Regions from separate parts of the Homo sapiens genome. Here all the other regions are linked to region 3. The links are contacts of gene promoters, found by promoter capture Hi-C in human tissues and cell types (Jung and others, 2019). All regions are on one chromosome and are shown on one strand. Each heading gives the region's core, a stretch centred on a gene start or on the middle of the fragment in contact. The rest is flanking DNA. Distances are from core to core; before and after follow the strand shown. Region 1 overlaps ITGAE (integrin subunit alpha E). Region 2 overlaps RNF167 (ring finger protein 167). Region 3 holds the start of UBE2G1 (ubiquitin conjugating enzyme E2 G1).

Region 1 (3,878 bases), core at 1,356-3,855, 570 kb after region 3:
AACCTCAGCCTCCACGTGCTGAGCCTCCTGCGTCAGACCTGGGGCCGCGTATCGCCCCATTTGATCTGCACAGCCCCATGTCCCAGAGGGGAGACGGAAGCGAGGTGCCAAGCCCAGGGTCCTTCAGTGACTCCAAGGCAGTGAGGATTTGAACTCAAGACCATCTACCAAGACAATGCTGTTTTCTGAGTCCTGGTGGGAAATGCAACAGGAGGTGGTTTCCTGATGGAGGCGCAGCTCAAAGGCAAACTGTTGGGCCTGGGGCGAGTCCAGTCTGAGGAAACAAGCTGAGCCAGGCCTGGCAGACCTGGGCACCAGCTGGCTCTCAGGGAAAGCCCAGCAAATACAGCGAACTACCCCACCACACACACACACACACACACACGGATGCACACACACACACACACGGATGCACACACATGGATGCACACACAGGGATGCACACAGGGATGCACACACACGGATGCATACACAGGGATGCACAAACACGGATGCACACACACAGATGCACACACGGATGCACACGCACACACGCGCACATGGATGCACACACGGATGCACACACAGATGCACACACGGATGCACACACGCACACACAGGGATGCACACACGGATGCACACACACGGATGCACACACACGGATGCGCATACACAGATGCACACACACGGATGCACACGCACACGGATGCACATGGATGCACACACACAGATGCACACATGCACACACAGGGATGCACACGGATGCACACAAGCACACACGGATGCACACACATGCACACACGCACGTACACAGTCTCATGCCACCGTGCCTCTGCGGCAGGCTCTTGCTGACCTAGTTACCAGCCCTGTAAGCAGAGCCCTGCTCCAGCTCAGTGAGCCGCCGCACGGCAGGAGCAGTGCCCAGCTTCTTGAGGCCATTTGTGACCCTGGCCTCTCTCTGTTTACCAACCCCTCGGTGCCTCCAGCTATTACTAAAGGCTTTGAAATCGGGCATAAACACAGAATCTGAGCCCCAGACACAAATATTCAATCTTCCGACGGGCCATGCACAAACCACACCCCTCTCTGAGCCTCAGCACCTAGCGTGGTGCCTGGAAGGCAACAGGTGCTCTGGGGGAGCGGAACCCTCAGTTGAACAAGATCTCTGTTGAACAAAGTGAACACAGGGGTGGGGTGGCGTGAGGAAAGGGAATATCTGGCCCACTCTGACCTTTTTAGAGCACCTTTTTTGGGTGGGCCTGGCCCTGCGCTGAGCTGGGCTCTGTGGCTGGGGGTGTTGTGTGTGACTCAGATCACATCACAGTTCAGGGCAGACAAACTGAATCACAGATCACCCTGATCCAGACAGAATTTGGTCACAGCCAGACAGACCACAGGATGCTGAGGGGGCTCAGGGTTTGGTCAGAGCCAGACAGACCACAGGGTGCTGAGGGGGCTCAGGGACCCGGGAGTTACTCTGACTGAGTCTGGATTGGCTCCTGGCTCCTGGCTGGCTGAGCAGGGCCACAAAAGACGGGCTTTGCAGACAGAGGTGGAGAGTGCTGAGCAGGCCTGCTGGGTGGAGGGAGCCGCTGTGTCGAGGCCTGGAGGCAGGAGTGTGCAGAGGGTGCGCCGGGCAGAGCGGGGGGGTGCCACGGACGCCCAGGAGAGGAGACTGGACTTTGCTCTGCGGCCTCCACTCGTGCCTTTTCAGTTATACCGACAGTGAAACGGGGGGAAGAAGGCCCCCCACCCACCCCTCGTAACATGTTGGCAGCTCGCACTTTTTAATTCTCCTCTAGGCAGTTTGCTGACGTCCTGTTTTTTCCCCAGAGTGACTGACCAGGAGGCACAGGGCTCAACGTGACGTGGGCCCCGGGGCCGGAGCCCAGACTCCCTACTGGGCGTCCTTTATCTCAGTTCTGGATTCGTGGGGGAGCAGCGGGAACAGTACGGCCTTCTTCCCTGCCTAGGGGTCTTGATCTGGAACCTTTGAGAGTCTATGTAGGCTGTAAGTGGCCACTCTCCCAGCACCTACCGAGGGTGGGCCACCATGCCAGGCCCTGAGATAATGTGGCGATCGAGGCAGATGCAGTGTGTGCCCCCTTGGACTCACTGGTGGCAGGGGGCAGTCACTGGCAATAGGGAAACAAGGAAGGCCAAGCACAGTGGCTCACTCCTGTAATCCCAGCACTTAGGGAGGCCAAGACTGGAGGATCACTTGAGCCCAGGAATTTGAGTCCAGCCTGGACAACATAGCAAGACCCCCATCTCTACAAAAAATTTAAAAAAAAATTAGAGGCCAGGCACGGTGGCTCACGCCTGTAATTCCAGCACTTTAGGAGGCCGAGGCGGGCGGATCACAAGGTCAGGAGTTCAAGACCAGCCTGACCAACATGGCAAAACCCCGTCTCTACTAAAAATACAAAAATTAGTCCGGTGTGGTGGCAGGTGCCTGTAATCCCAGCTACTTGGGAGGCTTAGGCAGGAGAATCGCTTGAACCCAGGAGGCGGAGGTTGCAATGAGCCGAGATCGTGCCATTGCACTCCAGCCTGGGCGACAATAGCAAGACTCCATCTCAAAAAAAAAAAAAAAAAAAAAAGGATGAAGAGGAAGCCAGGAGACAGGCTGAGGACAGAGCACTTCAATCAGGCAAGGGGAGGATTTTGTACACATGTGCACTCAGGGGATCAGGAAGGGCTCCAATGCTTCCATCAGATTCTCAAAGGGGGCCAGGTGCAGTGGCTCACACCTGTAATCCCAGCACTTTGGGAGGCCAAGGTGGTGGATCACGAGGCCAGGAGTTCGAGACCATCCCGGCTAACACGGTGAAACCACATCTCTACTAAAAATACAAAAATTAGCCAGGAGTGCTGGCATGTGCCTGTAGTCCCAGCTACTCCAGAGACCCAGTATTTTGAGTCCTGGCCTACACTCGGTAGGTGCTGGGAGAGTGGCCACTTACAGCCTACATAGACTCTCAAAGGTTCCAGATCAAGACCCCTAGGCAGGGAAGAAGGCTGTACTGTTCCTGCTGCTCCCCCACGAATCCAGAGCTGAGATAAGGGATGCCCAGTAGGGAGTCTGGGCTCCGGCCCCAGGGCCCACGTGAGACAGGAGAATCACTTGAACTGAGGAGGTGGGGGTTGCGGTGAGCCAAGATCACACCATTGCAGTCCAGCCTGGGTGACAGAGTGAGACTCCAACTCAAAATGAAGAAAAAAAGGCCGGGCATGATGGCTCACACCTGTAATCCCAGCACTTTGGAGGCTGAGGCAGGTGGATCAGGACGTCAGGAGATGGAGACCAGCCTGGCCAATATGGCGAAACCCCATCTCTACTAAAAATACAAAAAATTAGCTGGGCATGGTGATGGGCACCTGTTTTCCCAGCTACTCAGGAGGCTGAGGCAGGAGAATCGCTTGAACCCGGGAGGCGGAGGTTGCAGTGAGACGAAAGTTGTGCCACTGCATTCCAGCCTGGGCGACAGAGTGAGACTCTGTCTAAAAAAAAAAGAAAAAAGAAAAAGATTCTCAAAGGGATCCATTACCCCCAAACAAGAACGTCTGGTCTGGTTATGTTTCCTGTGTTTTCTACTTTGGGGCATTGGCAGGGAGGACACAAATCACAGGTCTGCAAAAGCTGGGGTGCAGGGTTTCTTCATTGTGTTCTCACAAAGGACCCTTAGGGACAGTTTTTTCTCTGATTTGAATAACCAGACTGGTTGTGCTTTGCCTGGAAGTGTTTTGTTTTTTGAATTTTGTGGACACCGCATGGCATTAACTGATCTTTTTCATGTTGATATCACCTTCAAGAAAGCTTCATTCATTCATGTATGCGTTGAATCAACAAATGATTTTATTAAGCCAAAGGATTTTAGGAACACTTCTGTGAGCCA
Region 2 (4,286 bases), core at 1-2,500, 580 kb before region 3:
GCACAGACATCATACTGGTCTCCTGGGACAGAAAGAAAATAATCTAGTCCTTCACTGAGCCACAATGACCCAGGGCTAAGGCTTTTAAAGCCTTGCAAAAATTTCCCCTCACCTACAAAGCCAGTGGAAGAGATAAGACAGGTAGGCAGGATAAGGTCAGGGCAGAACATGGAAGAATTTAGGGCTAGAAGGGACAAGCAAAGAGAAGCAGAGGTAAGAAGGGAAGTGGGTTTTTGGGGAGGTGTGAGGGTGGAGATAGGGAGTGGAAGGAACGGAAATGGGCAGGGCTTCTGCCACAGCCTTATACGGGCACTGGAGGCCCCAGGGCCTAAAGCCCCAGCCCCTTGGTACCGGTTTCTTCCTTCTCTAACTGAATCCTCCCCATTCCTCCCATTTTTCTGCTCTGTCCACATCCCCTATAAGCAAAGTCTATCCCTCTATTGTTTCCCACAATTATTTCACTTAATCATCTTTGCTTTCCATCTCCTCTCCCGTCTTCGTTGTATTTATGCATAAAAACAGAAGAAAAGACAGCATCTCAAGCTGAAACCTTCCTACTGCCATCTTTATTTTTATTATTATTTTTTTGAGAAAGGGACTCCCTCTGTCGCCCAGGCTGGAGCACAGTGGTGCAATCTCAGCCCCCGACAACCTCCGCCTTCCTGGTTCAAGTGATTCTCCTGTCTCAGTCTCCCAATTAGCTGGGACTACAAGTGCACACCACCATGCCCAGCTAATTTTATTTTTTTATAGAGATGGGGTCTCACCACATTGCCCAGGCTGGCCTGAACTCCCGGGGTCAAGGGATCCACTTGCCTCAGCCTCCTAAAGTGCTGGGACTTTTCTGTTTTATCATGTCACCCAGGCTGGTCTCAAACTCCTGGGCTCAAGTGACCTGCCCACCTTGGCCTCCCAAAGTACTGGGATTAGAGGCACTTGGGATTACGTGAGCCACTGTGCCCGGCCACTGCCATCTTTGTATACCCTATCTTCTGGGCTCAAAGTCCTTCAGAACCAGGTAAACTGTGGGAAAAGCCCTCTTCTCCCCTAACCCCCTCACCCTTCTGATAGTCATGTGTAGGAATCTGTTTCAGTTGCTCTTTGGTAAGTCGATTCCGCTGGAGCCGTTTCCGGTGCTGGATACAACGAGCTATCTGGGGGAAGCGGGGGTGGATGGACAAGGCTTAGGAACAAAACTAGACAATCTAGGACAAGCCACTCCCATCTCCCAACTCCAGATCCAGTCTGGCCTCACAGGCCTCAGTGCTTCCCATCATGTTCCCTCAGCTACTCACCATTACTGCTCCCATGGCCAAAACCAGCAGTCCCACAATCCCTGTGAAAGGGATGAGGTAATAGCCCAAGGGGAAGGTATTGTCTGGAACCAGAAGCACCCGAGCCCTGGGAAAAGGATGACCAGTCTCAGCAGGGCGAGAAAGGCAAAGGGAGAAAAAAAGAGGGACAAAGTAACTGGCTCTGGACAAAGCCCATAGGTGGGGACAGGAATGGGAAGAAAGTCAAAGAGGCAGGGAAGGAAGGACAGGAGGCTGAATGGTTCGGGTAATGAGGAGGCCTGGGCTCCAGGTTGGCATGGAACTGCTTGCTGAAGGAAGAATGGGAAGGAGGCACATGTCCTACCCCTTCTCGTAGACAAAGAGGGCACGCAGGTACTCGGAGCTTCTCTCCCCAATAAATACAGACGGGATCCAGATCTGCTGCTGGATTTCCTCTGCAGGGATCAAGGTGTTACTCTGGGGACTCACAACCTTCTACTCAAATCCTCTGGGAACCCTGGCATCTTGCACTTTGGCCCCACCCCACCTAAAGGATTGGCTTCTTTTCCTGAGGCCTTCAGCCTTCCCACCATCTCTGGGTCCTACTGAAAGCCCAGCTGTATAGATTCCCCCAGCCTTACCACTATTCCACACCATGTTCAGAAGTTCATTGGAATTCACATTGTGTACTACAGCGGCACCATATCCAGCCTTCTGGGCATTTAGGACCTAGGGAGACAAGGCAGAGGACAAGGAGCCATCATGGGCCTTACCTGTCTTCATTCCTGGTGCCTTTTTTTTACCCTCAGCTGCCCAGCTCCCCTTCCTCATTCAGCAACCTTGAGGTCAAAGTTGCAGTCGAATCTTCGAAGCAGCGCAATAAAGACTGACCCATTGACCGGGGCTGGGGGTGGTGGGGCAATGGGGCTGCAGGCATTGTCTGGGTGAGCCTCCACAAGGAACCCCTGAAGGATGGAAGCAAACAACAGTGAGATTTCTCCTTTCTAGATTCTGCTCTCTACAGGGGCCACCAAACACACCAGCCCACATGCTGCACATCCTCTATCCTCACTTCCTCCTCCTTCCTGGGGTCTGAGTGAGCATCCCACCATCACAACCTTCTCTTAGCCTCTTGAAAAGGCAATGACATAAAACATCCCTTCACCAAACTCTCCCATCATCCCTCTCGCTGTCCCAGATGGGCTAATCTGTACCCTATACTGCAAGCTAATGCAATTATTTTTGCCTTCTAATATTCCAATTGTAATTCAATTCTCAAACCACCCATGTCACTTTCTCTCAAGTTCTGTTTCACAGTCCCCTCTCCAGCACATACTCATACAGACACACTCCCCTCCCTTCAGTTTTCTTTTTGTTTTTCTTTTTTTTGAGATGGAGTCTCGTTTTGTCACCCAGGCTGGAGTGCAGTGGCGCGATCTCGGCTCACTGCAACCTCCACCTTCCGGTTTCAAGTGATTCTCCTGCCTCAGCCTCCCAAGTAGTTGGGACTACATGCGTGCACCATCACGCCCAGCTAATTTTTGCCATTTTAGTAGAGATAGGGTTTCTCCATGTTGGCCAGGCTGGTCTTGAACTGGGATTACAGATGTGAGCCACCGCGCCCGGCCTCTTCAATTTTCTAATTACCCATCTCACAAACAACTCGACTGCTACTAAGGCCCAACTGAGTTCTTGCTATGTGGCAGTCTTTGGGATGAAATACTACCAAAATTGCGTATCTACTTTGATCTTCACAATAACCCTAGGAAAACTTCTAATATCCCATTTTACAGTAAAACAAACTAAGGCTCAGAGAGATTAACTTGCCCAAAGTCATATAAGCAATAACTAGCACCTGAGACCTTCCTGATAAGGACCGTTGATCCTGCCTTCTGTCTTCGTCCACTTTCAGTCTCCCTGATAACCTCGGAGTTCCAGGGGTGGACACTCTGTCTTCTCCCTCTAGATTCTGGGTTCTACACTAGACGTGCTCAGTTCCTAACTTCATTTTCCTACCTCCAGTTTCACCCAGGACAAACCTCCCCAACCCCAGCCTAGGATGGAGGATCTTGCGAAATACTAAAAAAAGAAAAAAGACAGAAAAGGAAGGAAGGGAGGGAAGGAGGAAAAGAAAAGAAAGAAAATCACCTGGAGGCCCTCCTGGCTCAAGGTAGCCCCAAACAGAGCTGGAAGGTCTGCAAAGTCCATGCTGGCATTGTGGTCCGAGGTCTGCGGACAAAAAAGGCGATGTTCCCCTTCAGCCTGCAACCCTTCCTTTCAGCGCCCTTTCCCCATCCGTCCCTCAGACTCACCGCTCGAATGAGCCCCCGGGTCGGGGCCGCTCCCCACAGCACAGCGGCCACAACCACAGGAAGCGGGAAGGCTGCAGGGTGCATGGCAGCGGGAGGAAAGAGGCTGAGGAGGCCGCGCGTCCTGGTAGCAAGGAGCAGAAGCGGAGTTCTGCGCCCTCCCTGCCCCTCCTTTAGGATCCCAGGGGTCCAACCACCCCCAGGTCCCACTTCCCAGCTACATGGGGGCGCCGGGGAAGGAACACCAACTCAAAGAATGAGATATCCAACCCGTTTAGTGGAGCTGGGTGGGAGGCACTAAATGTATCCTTTTCTGGTACGGGGATAAAACGCGGAAAGGGGACGGAGCCTAACACAGGTGACAGAAAAACTTCGGGAAGGGTGGCGGAGCTCAAGGAGGTGGGACTTCCTGCTAGGTGGGCCGTGTTCCCAGCCTCTGGAAAAGGGCTTCCGGTAGAGAAAATCAGGCCGCTTTCAGCATTGGATGCTTGAGATGAAGGACTTCCGGTCCTAAAAGGCCGGTTAAAAAAAGGTTAGCGATGGAGGGACTGCCTGTGGAGATGGAAGGGGCACTGGTGGCCCAGAAGACGACCTAATAAAAGTGCCCGGAAACCCGGAGCCTCCTAGTTTACAAACCTCTCCTCCCTCTGGCCTCCGCCGCTCCTTCAAATCTCGCGAGAGTGCTCACCACCTCTCCCGTCCC
Region 3 (4,162 bases), core at 234-2,733:
GTGGCCCTTGCCTATAATCCTAGCATTTTGGGAGGCTGAGGCAGGCGGATTGCCTGAGTTCAGGAGTTCGAGACCAGCCTGGGCAACATGGTAAAACCCCATCTCTACTAAAATACGAAAGAAAATTAGCCTGGCCTGGAGGCGTGCGCCTGTAGTCCCAGCTACTCAGGAGTCTGAGGCAGGAGAATTGCTTTAACTCGGGAACCTGAGAGGCAGAGGTTGCAGTGGGCCAAGATCACGCCACTGCACTCCAGCCTGGGCGACAGAACAAGGCTGTCTCAAAAAATAAATAAATAAATAAATAAAATAAAAAAGAAAGAAACTAGGAATAGAAGTAAATTTCCTTGATTTGGTAAAGTGAAATATCAAAATGGTCCCTTTGGTCTATTTGATAGGGGGCAGTGGTTCACACTTGTAATGCTAACACTTTGGGAGGCCGAGTTGGAAGGACTGCTTGAACCCAGGAGTTTGAGACCAGCCTGGGCAACACAGAGAGACCTCTGGCCCCCCCCTCCTTTTTTTTTTTTTTTGTGAGACGGAGTCTCTCTCTGTCGGCCATGCTGGAGTGCAGTGGCACCATCTCGGCTCACTGCAATCTCTGCCTCCTAGGTTCAAGCAATTCTCCTTTCTCAGCCTCCCTGGTAGCTGGGAGTACAGGCGCCTGCCACCAGGCTGGGCTAATTTTTGTATTTTTAGTAGAGACCAGGTTTCACCATGTTGGCCAGGATGGTCTCGAACTCGTGACCTCAGGTGATCTGCCCACCTCGGCCTCTCAAAGTGCTGGGATTACAAGCATGAGCCACCGCGCCCCGTCAAACCCCCCGATCTCTATAAAGCAAATAAAAAAATAGCAGGGCATGGTGGTGTGTACCTGTAATCCCAGATACTAAGGAGACTCAGATGGGAGGATCCCTTAAGCCCAGGAGTTCCAAGCTGCAGTGAGCTATGATCACTGCACTCCAGCCTGGGCGACAGAGAGAATTGCCGTCCATAAATGATAATAATAACAGGGCCGGTCTCGGTGGCTCAATAATAATAGGGCCGGACGCGGTGGCTTTTTTTGTGCACTCTTCATGTAAAGTGAGTTATCATCATATATTGCCTCTATTTTGATGTTTGGTTAAAATGGGGCACACCAGTACTAACTTCGGCTTTCTAACAATTCCTACTTCGCACACCATGTGGCAGTGTTAGATGGCTTTTGGGCGCTCGCCAAGGACTAGACATCTACCACTTCTTCTGGCCTCTTCGCTCCTATATCCACTGCTTCAATCCAGAGGCTGTATTTGACCCTCTGCGACCTCTTTGTCATGGCGTCCGCGGGGCGTCTACCAGCGGAGGCTTGGGCTGGCAGCCGGGCGTCGACCTTCCCAAAATGGCGGCGGACGGGACAACTGCGCTCAAGGGGCGGGGTTCCGCCGCCGGGGGCGGGGCGGGAGGCCGAGGGGTCGGGCTAGCGGGCGGGACGCTTCCCAAGTCGGCAGTCTCAGCGCGCCTGCGCCGAGCGGCCCTGCGCGCAGTGAGGCAGTGGCGGGGGAAGGCACCGGTGGGGCCGACGGGCGGGTTGAAGGAGGGAAGCGGGCGAGCGAAGTCCCAGTGCGCGCCGCGGCAGCCCGGGCACCCTCCCCTTCCGGGCGTGAGTCGCTGTGAAAAGAGCTGAAGCGAGCGGACTCGCACCGGCAGCGAGGCGCCGCTCCCGCCGCCTCAGCCCGGCCTTCCTCGGCTCCGGCGCTCCGGTCGCGGGGCCCGGGTTCCTCGGCACACCCCGCTCCAGCCGCCCCCAGAGCCTGTCCCCAGCCCTTCGGAAGCCCCGGCGCCAGCCCGGGCCCTCGGCAGGGAGGATGACGGAGCTGCAGTCGGCACTGCTACTGCGAAGACAGCTGGCAGGTGAGCAGGCGGGCGGCGGGGCGCCGGGCCCGGCCGCGATCGCGGACAGCCGCAGCCCAGTCCCTCTTCTCCTCCCGGGCCAGCGGCCGTACTGCCGAAGGGGCCCGGGCCTGCGAGGGTGGGGACCTCGAGGCTCCGGTCCCGGCCGGGCCCAGCCGTTCTCGCCCGGCTCTTGGAGGGCACTGGGGGCGGGGACGCGACCCAGCTCCGGCCCAGGGACTGGGCCTGGCGCCCGGGGGGTCGGAGAGGAGGAGGTCCCCTCCCCCACCGTTCTGTAGGACGTTGCGGGGGAGGGGCTGTGTGCGGGTCCCCAGGCCGGGGCCGCCAGCTTGGAGGGGCGGGTCCCGGGTTCAGGTGCTGCCGGGGCCGCCGGACCTTCGGGGCCGGCTGGAGCGTCCGGACCCAGTGCGGCTGCGAGTCCCCGGCTCGGTGTCTGAGGGCGGGCGGAAGGGACCGGCCCTGGCGGGATAGGTGAGGCGCACAAAACTTCTCCCCGGGCGGCGCTGGGTCCGCGGAGTTGGGGCCGACAACAAAAGCGCTGGCCTCGGCGGCCTCCACGCGGGCGCGAGGGTGCCGGAGACCCTGGCGGAGTGCGGATCGCCGCCTCGCCTGCCTCCGCCTGGCACGGGCTCCGGCTGCGCCGCCCGGCTGGGGGAGGGTAGGAGCGGGCCGCGGGGAGAGCCGCTCGCTGGCCGGCTCCGGGCTTTGTGCTCGCCGCGATTCCGGCTGCTGCGCAGGCCTGCAAACCCCGGAGCTGCGCCCGCAGGCTCTGGCCCGGGGCGGCGGCCGGGTCGGCCTCCCCGAGGAGCCTGCGGCCCCCCTCCCCCATTGTCCCGGCCTCCGGCCGTTTGCGGCTTCCAGGTTGACTTTTTAGGGGGTTGGCTCCTACTCTGCTAGGACTGTGTGCGCGGAGCATGCGCAGTGGAGACGTCCGTGTGCGGAGTGGAAGGGGGGAGGCGGGTTGGTGGCTTCACAATGCAGCCCCACGTGCTGCCAGATTTAAAGAGAAATGAACCAGCACTTACCCCTGCTGTACAACACCCGGCGTGTGTCATTCTCAGTTCAAGCGATCTTCCCCCTACCCACTCTAAAACCAGTAGCCTCTAGCCCTCAGCAGAAGCCAAAGACTGGAGTGATGAAATCTGTTTTTGAAATACATTTACTAAGAGTTTGAGGTGTTCGTTAAATCACCTTTATGGCTTCTTAAGGAAAAGGTTGTCAGGGGTTCTTACAGATTGTATAATTGGGTTTATTATTAGACCATGAGCAAGCAGGTTTGGACAAGTATTAAAGTTCTAGATGCTCAGGGGGAGTTAGCTTGCAGTAAATGGAGAAGTTCTAATGATACTACAGGATACTCATAAAAATTATGTGCTGGAAAAGCACTGAGGCCGGGCGCGCTGGCTCACGCCTGTAATCCCAGCACTTCGGGAGGCCGAGGCTGGCGGATCACCTTAGGACAGGAGTTCAGGGCCAGCCTGGCCAAAGTGGTGAAACCCCCGTCACTACTAAAAATACAAAAAATTATTCGGGCGTGGCGGAGGGCGCCTGTAATCCCAGCTACTCAGGAGGCTGAGGCGGGAGAATTGCTTGAACGCGGGAGGCATCGTTGCAGTGAGCTGAGATCGCGCCATTGCTTTCCAGCCTGGGCAACAGAGCGAGACTCTGTTCAAAAAAAAGAAGGGCCGGGCGCGGTGGCTCACACCTGTAATCCCAGCACTTTGGGAGGCCGAGGCGGGCGGATCACGAGGTCAGGAGATCGAGACCATCCTGGCTAACACGGGGAAACCCTTTCTCTACTAAAAATCCAAAAATTAGCCGGGCGTGGTGGCGGGCGCCTGTAGTCCCAGCTAATCGGGAGGCTGAGGCAGGAGAATGGCGTGAACCCGGGAGGCGGATGTGCAGTGAGCCGAGATGGCGCCACTGCACTCCAGCCTGGGCGACAGAGCGAGACTGTGTCTCAAAAAAAAAAAAAAAGAACTTTATTGCATTTTTTTTTTTTTTTTTGAGGCAGAGTCTCACTCTATTGCCCAGGCTGGAGTGGAGTTGCGCGATCTCGGCTCACTGCAACCTCTGCCTCCTGGGTTCAAGTGATTCTCCTGCCTCAGCCTCCCGAGTAGCTGGGATTACAGGCGCGCGGCACCAAGCTTGGCTAATTTTTTGTATTTTTAGTAGAGATGGGATTTTACCGTGCTGGCTAGGCTGGTCTTGAACTCCTGACCTGGTGATCCGCCTGCCTGGGCCTCCCAAAGTATTGGGATTACAGGCGTGAGCC

The links. The method cuts DNA at HindIII sites, captures the fragments that hold promoters and counts their contacts. A contact is called where the count stands out against the background at its distance.
Region 1: a fragment that was not itself captured here is called in contact with the fragment with the promoter of UBE2G1 in region 3 in 1 of the 25 tissues and cell types used here (aorta).
Region 2: a contact is called between a fragment that was not itself captured here and the fragment with the promoter of UBE2G1 in region 3, in 1 of the 25 tissues and cell types used here (spleen).

Annotation. Positions count from the first base shown.
Region 1 is chr17:3,792,678-3,796,555 of GRCh38, reverse strand. The region is part of intron 1 of ITGAE (integrin subunit alpha E); the gene reads left to right. Among named protein-coding and RNA genes, the nearest start is that of ITGAE, 6.6 kb to the left of the region's middle. RefSeq lists enhancers at 206-927, 1-1,064, 1,118-1,167, 928-1,649, 1,650-2,372. The HindIII fragment of the contact is 5,173 bases long and covers 19-3,878 here.
Region 2 is chr17:4,940,294-4,944,579 of GRCh38, reverse strand. It overlaps RNF167 (ring finger protein 167), which reads right to left. Exons shown (of 10, transcript NM_015528.3): 1 at 4,220-4,286; 2 at 3,587-4,093; 3 at 3,423-3,503; 4 at 2,114-2,239; 5 at 1,916-2,003; 6 at 1,639-1,729; 7 at 1,296-1,401; 8 at 1,061-1,154; 9 at 1-22. The coding sequence starts at 3,670. Among named protein-coding and RNA genes, the nearest start is that of RNF167, 2.2 kb to the right of the region's middle. RefSeq lists enhancers at 141-190, 1-368, 3,405-3,534 and a silencer at 3,868-4,062. The HindIII fragment of the contact is 4,639 bases long and covers 1-3,569 here.
Region 3 is chr17:4,363,996-4,368,157 of GRCh38, reverse strand. It overlaps UBE2G1 (ubiquitin conjugating enzyme E2 G1), which reads left to right and starts at 1,483. Exons shown (of 6, transcript NM_003342.5): 1 at 1,483-1,887. The coding sequence starts at 1,842. It also overlaps the pseudogene RN7SL774P. RefSeq lists enhancers at 1,350-1,644, 1,464-2,150 and silencers at 1,313-2,012, 2,063-2,842. The HindIII fragment of the contact is 21,131 bases long and covers 1-4,162 here.